5 separate regions of the Homo sapiens genome follow, and all the other regions are linked to region 1. The links are contacts of gene promoters, found by promoter capture Hi-C in blood cells and fetal thymus (Javierre and others, 2016). All regions are on one chromosome and are shown on one strand. The core of a region is centred on a gene start or on the middle of the fragment in contact, and the rest is flanking DNA. Distances in the headings are between cores, read along the strand shown. Region 1 holds the start of HPS3 (HPS3 biogenesis of lysosomal organelles complex 2 subunit 1). Region 2 holds the start of RNF13 (ring finger protein 13). Region 3 overlaps ANKUB1 (ankyrin repeat and ubiquitin domain containing 1). Region 4 overlaps ANKUB1 (ankyrin repeat and ubiquitin domain containing 1). Region 5 overlaps COMMD2 (COMM domain containing 2).

What was found. Contacts are between HindIII fragments. The CHiCAGO score rates a contact against its expected background, and 5 or more counts as called.
Region 2: the fragment with the promoter of RNF13 here is called in contact with the fragment with the promoter of HPS3 in region 1 in 7 of 17 cell types (naive CD8 T cells, naive CD4 T cells, non-activated CD4 T cells and 4 more); the score reaches 14.0 in naive CD8 T cells.
Region 3: a fragment that was not itself captured here is called in contact with the fragment with the promoter of HPS3 in region 1 in 3 of 17 cell types (naive CD8 T cells, total B cells and total CD4 T cells); the score reaches 5.7 in naive CD8 T cells.
Region 4: a fragment that was not itself captured here is called in contact with the fragment with the promoter of HPS3 in region 1 in 1 of 17 cell types (total CD4 T cells); the score reaches 5.7 in total CD4 T cells.
Region 5: a contact is called between a fragment that was not itself captured here and the fragment with the promoter of HPS3 in region 1, in 4 of 17 cell types (non-activated CD4 T cells, total CD4 T cells, total B cells and 1 more). The highest score is 6.3, in non-activated CD4 T cells.

Annotation. Positions count from the first base shown.
Region 1 is chr3:149,128,315-149,130,937 of GRCh38, forward strand. It overlaps HPS3 (HPS3 biogenesis of lysosomal organelles complex 2 subunit 1), which reads left to right and starts at 1,324. Exons shown (of 17, transcript NM_032383.5): 1 at 1,324-1,626. The coding sequence starts at 1,410. RefSeq lists enhancers at 1,325-1,584, 1,366-1,865. The HindIII fragment of the contact is 10,979 bases long and covers 1-2,623 here.
Region 2 is chr3:149,811,913-149,814,535 of GRCh38, forward strand. It overlaps RNF13 (ring finger protein 13), which reads left to right and starts at 1,303. Exons shown (of 10, transcript NM_183381.3): 1 at 1,303-1,441. RefSeq lists enhancers at 660-1,171, 1,037-1,146 and a silencer at 677-826. The HindIII fragment of the contact is 6,716 bases long and covers 1-2,623 here.
Region 3 is chr3:149,781,741-149,784,363 of GRCh38, forward strand. The region is part of intron 2 of ANKUB1 (ankyrin repeat and ubiquitin domain containing 1); the gene reads right to left. Among named protein-coding and RNA genes, the nearest start is that of ANKUB1, 9.5 kb to the right of the region's middle. The HindIII fragment of the contact is 1,254 bases long and covers 698-1,951 here.
Region 4 is chr3:149,761,406-149,764,028 of GRCh38, forward strand. ANKUB1 (ankyrin repeat and ubiquitin domain containing 1) reads right to left here. Exons shown (of 6, transcript NM_001144960.3): 6 at 1-208. The coding sequence ends at 79. Among named protein-coding and RNA genes, the nearest start is that of COMMD2, 10 kb to the left of the region's middle. The HindIII fragment of the contact is 8,772 bases long and covers 1-2,623 here.
Region 5 is chr3:149,741,126-149,743,748 of GRCh38, forward strand. COMMD2 (COMM domain containing 2) reads right to left here. Exons shown (of 5, transcript NM_016094.4): 5 at 1-593. The coding sequence ends at 396. Among named protein-coding and RNA genes, the nearest start is that of COMMD2, 10 kb to the right of the region's middle. The HindIII fragment of the contact is 1,385 bases long and covers 592-1,976 here.

The DNA.
Region 1 (2,623 bases), core at 74-2,573:
AATGGGGTTCCAGGTTTTGAGCAAATCTCACTTCTTTCTCCAAAACAGACATTCTTTTTATGCAGGTGAAATTACACTAAAGTTAATATCAGTCTTCATTAGGAGAAAATTGAATTAGGATAATTAAGTCTTGAAGAAGAAAATTAAGCCAAAAAGAATAATATGGCAGATACTTGTGGAAAGGAATCTTTTTTACTATTGATTTTGATATTTGCTCTTAAGTTTTGTATCTAGAACAAATAACTTGTGGACTATTAGTCTGGTTGTTTTCCATAGGAGCCTTCTGTGATTTTTTGCAGCCCTAGTTCCTGACCTGAGCTACCTCCATGTTTACTTCTCTAACTCACTGAGTTTGACGAACCTGTTGTTTCCCATTACTTAGAGGTACTTTATTCATCTGAAGGGCCTAGGAAAGGGAGGCAAGTTTAACTTCAATCCAATTGCATCTAATTTACAAATTCTGAACTGGAAACTGACTGAAGAAAATGTTGCACTTTCATTTATGTCCCTGTGTGCCTAAATAAAACAGCATCCCTCAATCCATGCTAACACATATATTTTCTAGGTGAACTGGACAAAGTTATACTACTTGTTTTATCTAAATCTGATTTTTTTAGAAAAGGGAAAGTGTTGCGATCGTGAACTCCACGTTGAGATGTCAGGAATAGATAATTTACTGCATAGTTTTAGGAGCACTGGACTGAAAGCCAGGGGATTTCCCTCCTAGTTCTTCTATCCTCTGGGGCTCAAACTAGTCTTTTGTCAAATGCCTACAAGATGAAGTCCATGGATTCTTTCTTTCAACAAATATCTTTTTGCCAAGCACGTTCAAGGCTTTGCTCTTTCCAGCTGAACTATTCTAGAATTTCCATTATTTTAAAGCAACTCTTCAGAGTGTTTAGCCCCGAGTTGCACCCCATTTCAGTTTTTGCAACCCCATCCTCCAGAAGCTCAGGGACTACTGAAGAGACATGAATAACGCTCCTCAAAGTAAGTACAAAATGTTACAAGATAGATGATGAATTGTCAGAACGTACTCAAAAGCCAAAACATACCGCCTGGCCCAAAGCAGTAAAAGACGAAAGGCAGGGACCCAGCGGTCCCCGCACCCACCGGCCACTGAGCATAGAGCAGTGGCAAGCTCGCGCGGCGGAGTGGGAGGCGCAGAGACCGAAAGCACTGCAGCGCCAGAGCGCGGGCTGACCAGGCTGGCGTGACCGCTTTCCCGACGCCTGCCACGCCCCGCGGCGGCCTCTTTAAGTAGCGGAGCCGCGGGCGGGGCCGGCTGGCGTTCACGTGACCCGGCGTCATTGGCTCGCTCGCGGAAGTAGTCCTACATTCGCGGTCAGCGCGGGGTCTCCGGGCGCCCTGCAGGGCGGGCAGGCTGTGCCATCCCGCCGGACGTCGGGATGGTGCAGCTGTACAACCTGCACCCGTTCGGGTCGCAGCAGGTGGTGCCCTGCAAGCTGGAGCCGGACCGGTTCTGTGGCGGGGGGCGTGACGCGCTTTTCGTGGCGGCGGGCTGCAAGGTGGAGGCGTTCGCGGTGGCCGGCCAGGAGCTGTGCCAGCCGCGGTGCGCCTTCTCCACGCTGGGCCGGGTGTTGCGCCTGGCCTACAGCGAGGCTGGTGAGTAATCTAGAGAGCCAGGGGCCGCCTGGGGTCCAGCTTGAGGCCTCCTAGCTAGCGGACCGAACGTCTGGGCTGTAGCTCTAGCTAGGGATGGGACTTCTTGCTTCCCGGAATTTGCCGGATGGTCTCCCTGGGTCTGGCCGCTGATTGCTTGAAGTCGCATTGAGCTATGCGGTTGTCGCGGCAAGCATAGGTATGAGCTTGCTTCTGTCGGGGCGGAGACGCTGACATCTCTTCGTCTTGGTTTTCTGCAGAAAGGCCTCTGGCTGGATTCCACTCATCTCGGATACTTAAGCAAACAACAACAAAAAACTCTTTAGTGCATCAGATTTCAAAGACTTACCAAAAAAACAAGTAGGAATAAGGAGACTAGTACTGTATCCCGGAACCTCCAAGTACTCCCAGCTTTAACAATTATTCCAACTCTTGGCAGTTCTTTCACATCTGTACCTCCATCTACTTCCGGTCGGTTTTTGAAAGCTCACATTATGTGTTGATTTTTAAATGTGTGTAAGTAGAACTCAGACTGCCCCCCTCTCTTCTCTTAAACATCTGTGGCCGGGCGCAGTGGCTCACGCCTGTAATCCCAACACTTTGGGAGGCTGAGGCAGGCGGATCACGATGTTAGGAGTTCGAGACCAGCCTGGTCAATTTATTGAAACCCCGTCTGTACTAAAAATACAAAAATTAGCCGGACGTGGTGGTGGGCGCCTGTAGTCTCAGCTACTTGGGAGGCTGAGGCAGGAGAATCGCTTGAACCGGGGAGGCGGAGATTGCCCCATTGCACTCCAGTTTAGGCGACAGAGTGAGACTCCGTCCCAAAACAAACAAAAACAAACAGTTGTAAGAGCAGCCGTTACTCTTTCACACCAGAAATGTGAAGCAATACCAAGGAAATACTGTGTGGGTGAATCCTATTTTAGAAAAATCCAACATTTAAAACTAGATCCCTTTTAGATTACAGAAGAATTTACCATATAATTCCTTTAATACA
Region 2 (2,623 bases), core at 53-2,552, 680 kb after region 1:
ATAGCTTTTATTTAATTTTTTAAAATTTGATCTTAAATTTCTTGTATTTGAATTTTATTTGAGTAGGTAATATTTGCAAGGTTCAAAATTCAAAAGGCACAAAAGGATACACAATAAGGAAAGAGTCTTTTCCCCATTGCTGTGTCCCACCTACTCAGGGCTCTCCAAGCAATCAAAGTGACAAGTTACATCCAATGGTATTCTACTAATACTCTGTGTGATAGCCTCCTCGCCACCATTTTTAAAAGATGATGTTGAAGGAGTTGAAGCCTGTAAAGGCCTTATTAAGGGTGCCTTATTATTTGAAGCAGAAGTAGTGCCTGATTCTATGTCTCCTGACATTTCTTTCAGGACTCTGTAATATTTGCCTAAGTCACACTGCTTTTGTAAGGTGGCGAGTTGGCAATGATTAATCAATGTGGATGGTACAATCCGGTAATTTAAGTTTCGACTGGTTTAAGATTGAGACAACCAGAAAGGAAGGCTTATCAGAAGGGCGGCAGGGGAGGAGATTTTTGGTTCATCAAAAGGAGGCAAGGGTTTTAAAAGGCTGACCTAGGGCCTGAATCACATGGTTTGACTTTTGCTAAGCCCCGGGGATGGCGCGTGTCAGGCCCAGAGTGCTGATGCCAGCGTGGATCCGAGCCAGGCCTCAGGGGACTGGCGTTCAGACCTCGGGCCGCTCGCATCTCTAACAATTTGAGCCCTACTTTAAGGTGTGGCCACGGTCCCCACCCACTCTGATCTCAGACTGGGCACGGTACGGAAGGCGGGCGGATGAGGCCTCGCCCTCGCCTCTTTAGTAGGTCGGGTGAGTGTAGTGTGCAGGGAAGAGACGCGTCAGCGCCAGGGCCAGGCCCGCCCGGGGGCAGCCCGGCAGCCGAATCTTGGGCTACTCTGTCCCAACAGCCGGAGCAGATCAGACCGACCGGCCCTGCCCGCTCGGTCCCGCGCCCTCCAGACCCTACGGTCTCCGTTTCTAGGGGCACATGGTTAGCGGCAGGCGCCCACAGCCAATCCACTTTGCCAGCCTGCCCCTTCCTCTGCCAAGAGCAGCTTCTTCAGCCGCGCTCCAGTTCCGCAGACGCCTGCCCCACCCTGCTCTTCCCTTCCAGGGAAGACGGATCACGCGGCCAAGAACGAGACTCGCAAACTGGGCATTTCTCCGAGCCGGGCTAGAGCAAGTAGCGAGACTCCGCGTGAGAGTGGGAAAGAGCCTTAACAGGCAACCATGTTGCCCAGTGGGTTTTCTGTGCCTTTGGGTGCGGACCAATGAGGCGCGTGGGGCGGGACTTCCGCTTCGCCTAGGTGTTGTCGTCCCTGCTAGTACTCCGGGCTGTGGGGGTCGGTGCGGATATTCAGTCATGAAATCAGGGTAGGGACTTCTCCCGCAGCGACGCGGCTGGCAAGACTGTTTGTGTTGCGGGGGCCGGACTTCAAGGTAAGACCCTGTCCGGCTTCGCGGCAGCCGGGCAGCTCGTTATCGAGCGGCCCAGAGAACATACCCCGCTTGTTGGCCCTCGAGCTCGGAGTCGGCCCTGCTGCTGAGGTCTTTGCTGCTCCTCTAGAGCTGGGTGAGAAGTCAATTAGGCTTTTTGCAAAAGGAATAAAATAGCCTTGCCCTCGGGGGACCGAGTCTCCCCTGCACTCTCATTCCGCGAGTTTGTGTGTGTCCAAAGTTGAGTTACCGGTTTTGCTTCTCTCATTCCCTTCTTGAGGCTGCAAGAGCCTGCCTGGAAAACATGTTTGGAAGGCTTTTCTTGGTCAAGTACCTGCCGCAACGTCCTCGGGCACATCGCTTGACTTTAGTTGAGGGGGCTGTTTTGTCTCTGAATAGAAGGAGGGCAGTCACTTCCTCTCTTTTACCCCCACCCCCTTTTTCTTTCCCTGGAAGCTCAGATTGCAGGTTTGGGACTTAACCCCTGCTAGGGCCAGATACTACGGTCAGTCAGCAGCTCTGCCTGTATGCTTGACTTGACTTGACTTGCACTTATTAAATAACTTTGTCCCAGAGAGAAAGAGAGAGTGGGCAGACATCGAAGCCAAACAGCAGTATCCCGGAAGCACTCATGCAACTTTGGTGGCGGCCACTCAGTTTTCTCTGCCAGTGTCTGGTAAATTCCTCTATTTTGTCCTAATCTGACAATAGTAAATAGTAAATTTCCAAAACTGTCGTTTCATCATCAGTTTCAGCACCGTGGGCAGCTGCTCGGGTCCTCTCTTGTTGCCCCAAACCTGCCCGGCTATTACTGTTCGTCAGTGATGCAGCAGAAACAGTGAAAACTGATGCATTCCTTTCAACAATGATGTGTTTGTTCTCCAAGGAGAACATCTGCAGTTTTTGATACAATATAAATAAGTAAGGTGGCTGTGCCTCCAAAGAGTTCTTCTGGAGAAACAGATCAATTCAAGATTTAAGGTAGGGCTTTCAAGAGTTTATGCTATTTAAGCACAGTTTTTTAATGGGTGGACATTAGCTCCATCTCGAAGTAACAAAACTGGACAGTGATAGCAATTAAAAAGAACTTTAAACAGGAGGTAAGAAGTGTAGTGCAGTGCTGTAGTGCAGGAAGTGTAGTGCAGTGCTGTAGTGCAGGGCCCATAAGGATTCATTAATAGATTT
Region 3 (2,623 bases), core at 75-2,574, 650 kb after region 1:
TTTGAGGAGTGATGTTACTGATGAAATTTAAGGCTGCAGTACTTTGATCTAGGGCCCATTTCAGTGACTGAAGTGATTAGGAACAGTTTCAGTCCCTCTGTGGCTGTGCATGAAGCCAGATCAGCAAGCTGAGCTGCCCACTGAGCCTAAAGTGCTTAGAACAATTTTTCATGATAGTTTCTCATAAACACATGCAATACAAATTTAAAGGACATAGGATTGACTCTTTCACTTTTGCCACGCCGTGCTTTCCTATGGTTCCATAAGGGAAGTATCTGTTCAAGCTAATGTAGATAATATTTACGGGCAGGCAGAAATTCCTATGAAAACTGAATAAAAAGATAGTGGGAAAGAGAGAAAAATTATATTTTATGTAATAGCTCTTTTTTATTTCTTTAAAAATTCCTAATTTATATTTAGAATTAAATGCAAATAACAAATTAAATGCAAACAAATGACAAAATAAATCCAAATAGAATAACATGCAAACAAAATAACAGAGTCCCAAGTCACTCTTTAAAAAAAAAATTTTTTTTTAGAGTCTAGGGCTCACTATGTTGCCCAGGCTGGTCTTGAACTTCTGGGCTCAAGCAGTCTCCCACCTCCTGAGTAGCTGGGGAAAGAATTCTCCTCCATTCCCAGCTCTCAAGTCACTCTTAAGTTAACTAGGTGTGTGAGGTTAGATAAGTTAAAAAGAAGCTTCTCAGAATATGAATAATCGTATACTTATATCTATAAAGATAAGCATGTATAACTTAGTATACATATAACTGACTCTGGAACAAGTAATAAGGGAGAACTGCAAAATATCTGGCAATTTTTTTGAGATAGGGTCTCACTCTGTTGCCCAGGCTGAAGTACAGTGGCACTATCAGAGCTCACAGTAACCTCAAACTCCTAGACTCAAGCAATCCTCCCACCTCAGCCTCCCAAGTACAGGCACTCACCACCAAACCCAGCTACATTTTAAATTCTTATTTGTAGAGACAGGGCCTAGCTATGTTGTCCAGGCTGGTCTGGACCCCCTGGCCTCAAGCAATCCATCCACCTCAGCCTCCCAAAGTATTGGGATTACAGGAGTGAGCTTCTGTGCCCAGCTGATCTGACAATCTTTAGATGAAAATAAAAAGTGCAAGGAAGAAAATATTACTAATTATTAATGAAGCCAGGTTCTTAAGTCTCAAGAAAATTAACACCTACTGAGTCTGTTCATTTTTTTTTTAAGCGCTCAGGAACTTTTTATCACATAAATAAATAATAAATGTTGAATGACATCCCAGGCCTTTTTAATCAATAATGTATCTGGATAATAGTTCTCATTGCACTTTTTAACTCTACATACTCACCTTTGTATAAACCTTGTTTTTATGGGAAAACCCATTTTGAGTTCTAGTGAGGCACATTAGTTGTCGATATTTTCTAATTTGGTTGTATGACGAGGGAGTAGGTAGATGCCAATTAATAGCAACTTGCTAATCCACCTTATCCACATAAGAGAAGGCATCTCTACCTCTCTGTCTATATGATACTCCTCCCCAAGTATTCTGAATCACAGAAGGCTGGTCAGTCACAACCAACGAAGTCAGACGCTATTAAATAATAATACCACACACAAATCATTGTTGGACATGTACAAAATTAGACTTTTTCCTTTATAAACAAACTGAGATGCAAACAAACCAACCCAAGAGATATACACAAAGTATCTTACTTTTCAATAAAAACAAATACGTTCTATCTCATGAGAATAATTCCATGCTTACCTTCAAAAAACAAATGCAAACTTACTGTAAATTCATACATGTACTTTAACAATAAGAAAGGAAAAGCTAAACAGAACTGACTGAAAGAAAACAAGTTAATGAAAGTTTTGAATGTACTGCTGTATTTTTTCTCAAGTTCTGCTTTTTTATATTTTGCTGTTTTGGAGTTACAGCACTAAGTAAGCAGAAGCTTGCTGAACTATTCCAGAGTGAACAAAAGGGGAAGTAATATTTGTTTTTGTTGAACCAAATGAATTCCAGTGAGATGTCTCCATAAACTTCTCCTCTTGTGTGGTAGTCATTCTGGAGAGATTATCCATGGAGTCTTGGACACTGAATTGGAACACCTTTCTTCACCAGATTCTTTTCATACCTTTTGTTATGACTCATCTTAGAAAAGAGGGCCATTTTTAAGAAACATGCTTTCATGTGTAAATTTTAAAGAAACATGTTTATACATGTTTTTGTGTATAAAAATGCATAAATGTAAAACCACATATATTGGATTTTGGTGTTTATACATTAACAGTACCTCTCGAAAGCTAAAATGTTTATCATTTTGAATCAAATTTAGACTTGTCAAGATAGTACAAACTTCTCTAACTTATCTGATAAACATCTACTCAATGGTACTACAGTTAACTCAATCTCTCAGCATAAAACAACTTTTCACAACATTCCAGGGATGTCAGGAGGGATTAACTATGTTTTGACCCCAGCACTTGGTTGGTACAAGTCTGGTTATAGAAGGAGGCAGGGAAACCAGAAGGAGTCCTAGGGAGGCTGAGCCCATTTCACGCTCTGAAAAGCACAACCTGCTGGATAGTTGCCCCCTTTGCAGTAGAGCATGGACATGTGAC
Region 4 (2,623 bases), core at 79-2,578, 630 kb after region 1:
GTTATTAGAAATGTTAACATTAGAACTGGACATTCTGTTTGATCAGGTCTTTGTCCAAACTGAAGTTGTCATGACTTTTCAAAGCACAGTTTCTAGAGAGTTTTCACACGCTGTCAGACCTCCTCGGGTAGTCAAGTTAGAAATGCTCTTTTTGGCCAGGACTCTTGCTATTTCTAACTGCTGAAGCCATCGTTTCTCTTTAAAGGCACTGCAAGAAAACAAGATATAATTTGTAAGGAGGTCTGATCTTGTCTGCATACATAGCTGAAAAAGGATGGAAATCTTCAGGTTGATTTTGTAGCTAGGGCTAGTTTGTCTTGTCACATAGGTAGATGTGAAATAGAAACAGTAATCTTTCTAAAACAAGTTCCCTGTGATGCAGTGGGAATGATATTTTCTCAAGGCAATACTAAAAACTTAGAATCCACAACTAGAAACAGAAAGCCACTCAATATCATGTAGAATTCTCTGGGTTGAAACTTTTTCTCTCTCCTCTCTAGATATTCCTATACATCACATATTCCCTGGCCTCCTCTTTTCTCCACTTTCTACCCCTACGAACACACATGAGGATTTTTTAATTGAAAAGATATTAGGTATTTTGATAGTCTTTAACTAAAATGCAAAGGAACTTAATGTTTTATGATAGTTATTCTCTGGCTATATACTAATAAAGACTTGCAAATTTGAATACGATTACTCTTTGTAGGATGCAAATGTGATTTAATACAGAGGTGTTTTACATCACCTTAAATGTTGGGGTCCTCCAAGATTCTATCTTTGGTCCTCCTCTCTTTCTACACCCTCATCCTAGGAGTCCTCATTTACTCACTGTTTAAATTCTTTTATCCATGACTCCTTGACCTTTCTCAAAAGTGGCATATCTCCAATTAACAAATAAAAATATTCATCCCATAGACACTTCTAATTTAACATATCTTTATCTTCTTCCTAAACTTGTCCCACTTCTGTTTCCTTGTTCTAACACTTCGATTTTGCTATCCTCACCATCTCCAAAGCTAGAAACGAAACTAAATTCCTTCTTTCTCTATTTCCACACCCAGTCAGTGACCAAATTTTGTGGATTATTCCCCAGAAATATCTCTTGTATTTGGCCTTTTCTCTTTTCCCTAACTACTGTTGTTCTAGTCCAGGTCTTTATTTTCTCTTATTTCTCTTTTTGCAGCTTCCTACCTTTACTATAGTCTTTCCACATCTTTCCAACGAGTCTTCCATACATCTCTATCAGATTTGTCTTCAAAAACAAACAAAAACTGATTATGGAACTTACTTCATGAAAAAGAACTTCTATGAGCTTCCCACCTACCTCCTACCCCATGGAAGGGGGAATAAGAAGCAAACTCTTCACTTGGTCACACAAGATGCTTCTTAGTGTAGATGCAGTCTACTTTGCCAGTCTTATCTCCAGCCAGTTCTTCCTTATTGCCTAGGATGACTTTTGCAAATCCACGTACCTTCCTGAAAATTCAATTTCTTGCTTGCTCTTTCACAAAAGTGCCTTTGACCATGTTACTAGCTCTGCCTGGATCCTTTACCTCACCTCTGCCCATGTTGTCTGGCAAAGTCTGGTATTTCTAAAAGGCTTTCACTCAATCTATTAGGAGTAACCCTGTATAAAAGTACCATAGTGTTTCCAACATTTGAACCAGGTCTATGTCTGCCTGATTCAACTTCTTTGTTCTAGATTAACTTCTTGCTTTACCTCAATGGCTGTGTCTTTCTGTGCCCTCTAAACTGAGTTAACCCATCCATGCAGCCCATAAAATTAGGTGTTAAGTCTTAAAGAAATCATTCAGGCACTTTCAGCCTTTCCCTGTATCCCACCAGACTTAGTTTGAAGTCCTCTCCTGTTCTGATGCATATCCTTGCTCTTCCTAGGCTCAGAGCCTATCCTGATTCTCTCCCTGGCATTTGAAACCTGGCTTTTCTGCATTCATTCAAAAACTGTTTACCTTAAGAAAAAGATGCGTATTGAGCACTTACTCTATGGCAAGCACTATTCTATGTGCTGGAGATACAAAAGGTGATTAAAACATACAAGATATGCCTTTTTAAATAAAGAATAAAAACAAAGAGCTGTACTTGTATCCAGAGTACAAGAGCCCAGCAAAGCTCATAACATTTGAGATTATCATCTATTCTCAGTCCACTCAAACTCTCAGCCTTCTGGATCAATCCCTTACATTTGAATCTTTACTTAACTGGACTCCCAGGTCACATAAACCTCTCTGGAATTGGACAATGAGCAATAAGGAAAGCTATTTTCTAGACACACCTTACAGATATTCTTTGACCTGTGTAAAGCCTACTGACGTCTAGGCTGAGGAATGAGACTCTATGTGACCTTCTGGCCTCAGTGACTGTCTACACCAGCCACATTTACTCACCAACCCAAACCCACATTAGCGCTTGATCTGTGTTAACTGCATAATGCCATCTTGGAGTCAACCCTGAGAGGTTTAGTTTTATGAATCTAAAGGTAGGAGTTCCTGAATGACATGTGGTCCAACAAGTACTTTCACATGATGCCAGATGACTTGTCTGCTTTGGGAGACTCCCCTTTCTGTAAAACAGGAACATCTGATGGTCACTTTACCCACCT
Region 5 (2,623 bases), core at 34-2,533, 610 kb after region 1:
CAATCTCAGCTCACTGCAACCTCCACCTCCCAGGTTCAAGCGATTCTCCTGCCTCAGCCTCCTGAGTAGCTGGGACTCTGATAGATGCGTGCCACCACACCTGGCTAATTTTTTATATTTTTAGTAGAGATGGGGTTTCACCATGTTAGCCAGGAAGGTCTCAATCTCCTGACCTCATGATTTGCCCACCTCGGCCTCCCAAAGTGCTGGGATAACTGGCATGAGCCACTGCACCCAGCTTAGCTTCTGATTATGACCTCAGTATCTTGGAATAGATACTGAGGAATACTATGTATTTATCATCATGAATTAATAAAAAATTAATTTTGAAAAGTAATTGCTGTATATCATCAATTCATAAGTGATTCAAATGAATTAAAACCTTAAAACTGGTACTACTTGATGTTGCGAACAACTCTCCTACAGTGATTTGTCTTCATCTCTTCCAATGCTTGTTCCAGTTGTTGAACCAAATGGAGCAGGGTGGCTGGGTCTGTCTGCAGAACTTTGGTGTTGTGATCTCCATTTTGATTAAGGTGTAGCTTTATAGTCACTGCTGGTTTAATCTGTTGCCTGAGACTTCTACTTGCAAGCTTGATTTTAAATGAAATAAGAGCACAGTAACTATTTAATAACCATGCTGAATACATAATATTTATAATTATCTTAAACCATACACAAAAATTAAGTTTCAGATGAATTACAGACTTCAAAATGAAAAGTAAACTTTAAAACCTTTGAAAAGAAAATAATGAGAATATATACCAATTTTATGGTATAGAAGATTTCTTAAACATGATATAAAAGGCTCAAACCATAAAGACAAAACTGGTAAAATTTAACTACATTAAAACTCAATTTTCTTCAAAGGATACCTAAAGATGGTGAAAAAACAAGTCATAAACCGAGAGAAGGGATTTTGCAACAGACATATAACCAAAAAAAGATTAGTATCCAGAATGTGTGAACTCCTCTGATTTAATAAGAAAAAAACCTCAAAACCCAAGATAAAAATATACAGAAGGTCTAAATAAGCATTTTACAGAAGACAAATGAATATAGAAAAATATGTTCAACTTTATTAAACATCAGGATAATAGCCAGTAAAACTACATGAAATACCATTTTACAAATATCAGACTAGCAAAAATTAAAAACCTGTTCATACCAAGCATTGCAAGTGGCAGTAATGGGAACTCTCACCCACTCCTGGTAAGCGATGAGAAAATCACTTTGGAAAACAATGTGCATTACCAGCAACTCCACCACTAGGCATATACCTTAACCTCTTATATACATTTATTCATGATAGTATGTTTCCAAGAACCAAAAATTAGAAATACATCAAATATTCATTAACAGAATAGATAAACCAAGAATAATCACACAATGAATTGCTTACTAAATGGCAGAGAAAAGAAATGAACTACAGCAACATGGGTTATCATAGAAGAAATGAAAATGTTGAAAAAAAGCAAGTCACAGAATATGTTCAAGTTTAAAAAATATACAGTTTGGTGACAAAATTTATGTTTAAAAAAACTATAAAGAAAAGATTAGGGGCTAGGCACGGTGGCTCACGCCTGTAATCTCAGCACTTTTGGGGGCTGAGATGGGTGGATCACAAGGTCAGGAGCTTGAGACCAGCCCGGCCAACATAGTGAAACCCTGTCTCTACTAAAAATACAAAAATTAGCTGGCATGGTGGCACGCGCCTGTAGTCCCAGCTACTTGGGAGGCTGAGGCAGGAAAACTGCTTGAACCTGGGAGGCAGAAGTTGTGGTGAGCCAAGATCGTGCCATTGCACTCCAGCCTGGGCAACAGAGTGAGACTCTATCTCAAAAAAAAAAAAAAAAGAAAAAGAAAAAGAAAAAGAAAAGATTCACAGAAAATTCAGGATAACGGTTTCCTTCAGGTGGCTGGGAGATGGTTACAATTGGGTACAGGTTCTTCAAAAGTACTGGTTTTATTTGTTAAGCTTGGTGGTGGGTGTACTGGTATTTGTTTTATCATTATTCTTTAAACTGGGTATCTATAACCTTTCATTTGTATAATATGTTCCAAAATTTAAAAAATAAGTAATACTGACATATTTTTAAAAGAAGAAAACACAAAACTATAAACAATGACCAACTTCAAGGTCCTTTCAATCTTTAGATTCTCCATTAAAAGGAACCAGGACTATCCAAAGCAATAGCTGACTTGAAGTCTAGGAGAGAAACTGTACAAGATGAGCCTGAAACATCTTGTTATAGGAGAAAGCAAAAAAGTTATCAAAAATAGTGGAGTCATGTCAAGAAGACTAGATTCCAACTTGAAGGGATTTTCAAGTGAGTAACAAATCTAAACCTGAGATTTCAGGATTAATTTAATTCTGTAAAATAGAATATTCTGACTAATAACTTCTTCCAAATAATTATAGGTAACCTGGGCTTCCAAAAGAACCCAAGATACTGATCCAAGGCTGAAATTTAATGTCCCCAACTAATTTGCAAACAATAAGTCAATCCCTTTGGGTGAGCTGGTCCCCAAACATAAAATAGGTACTTGCAGGCTAAAGTACCAGTTTAAGATCATCTCTGTAGTACAAATAACTATAGATGACACATATGCAAATTATATA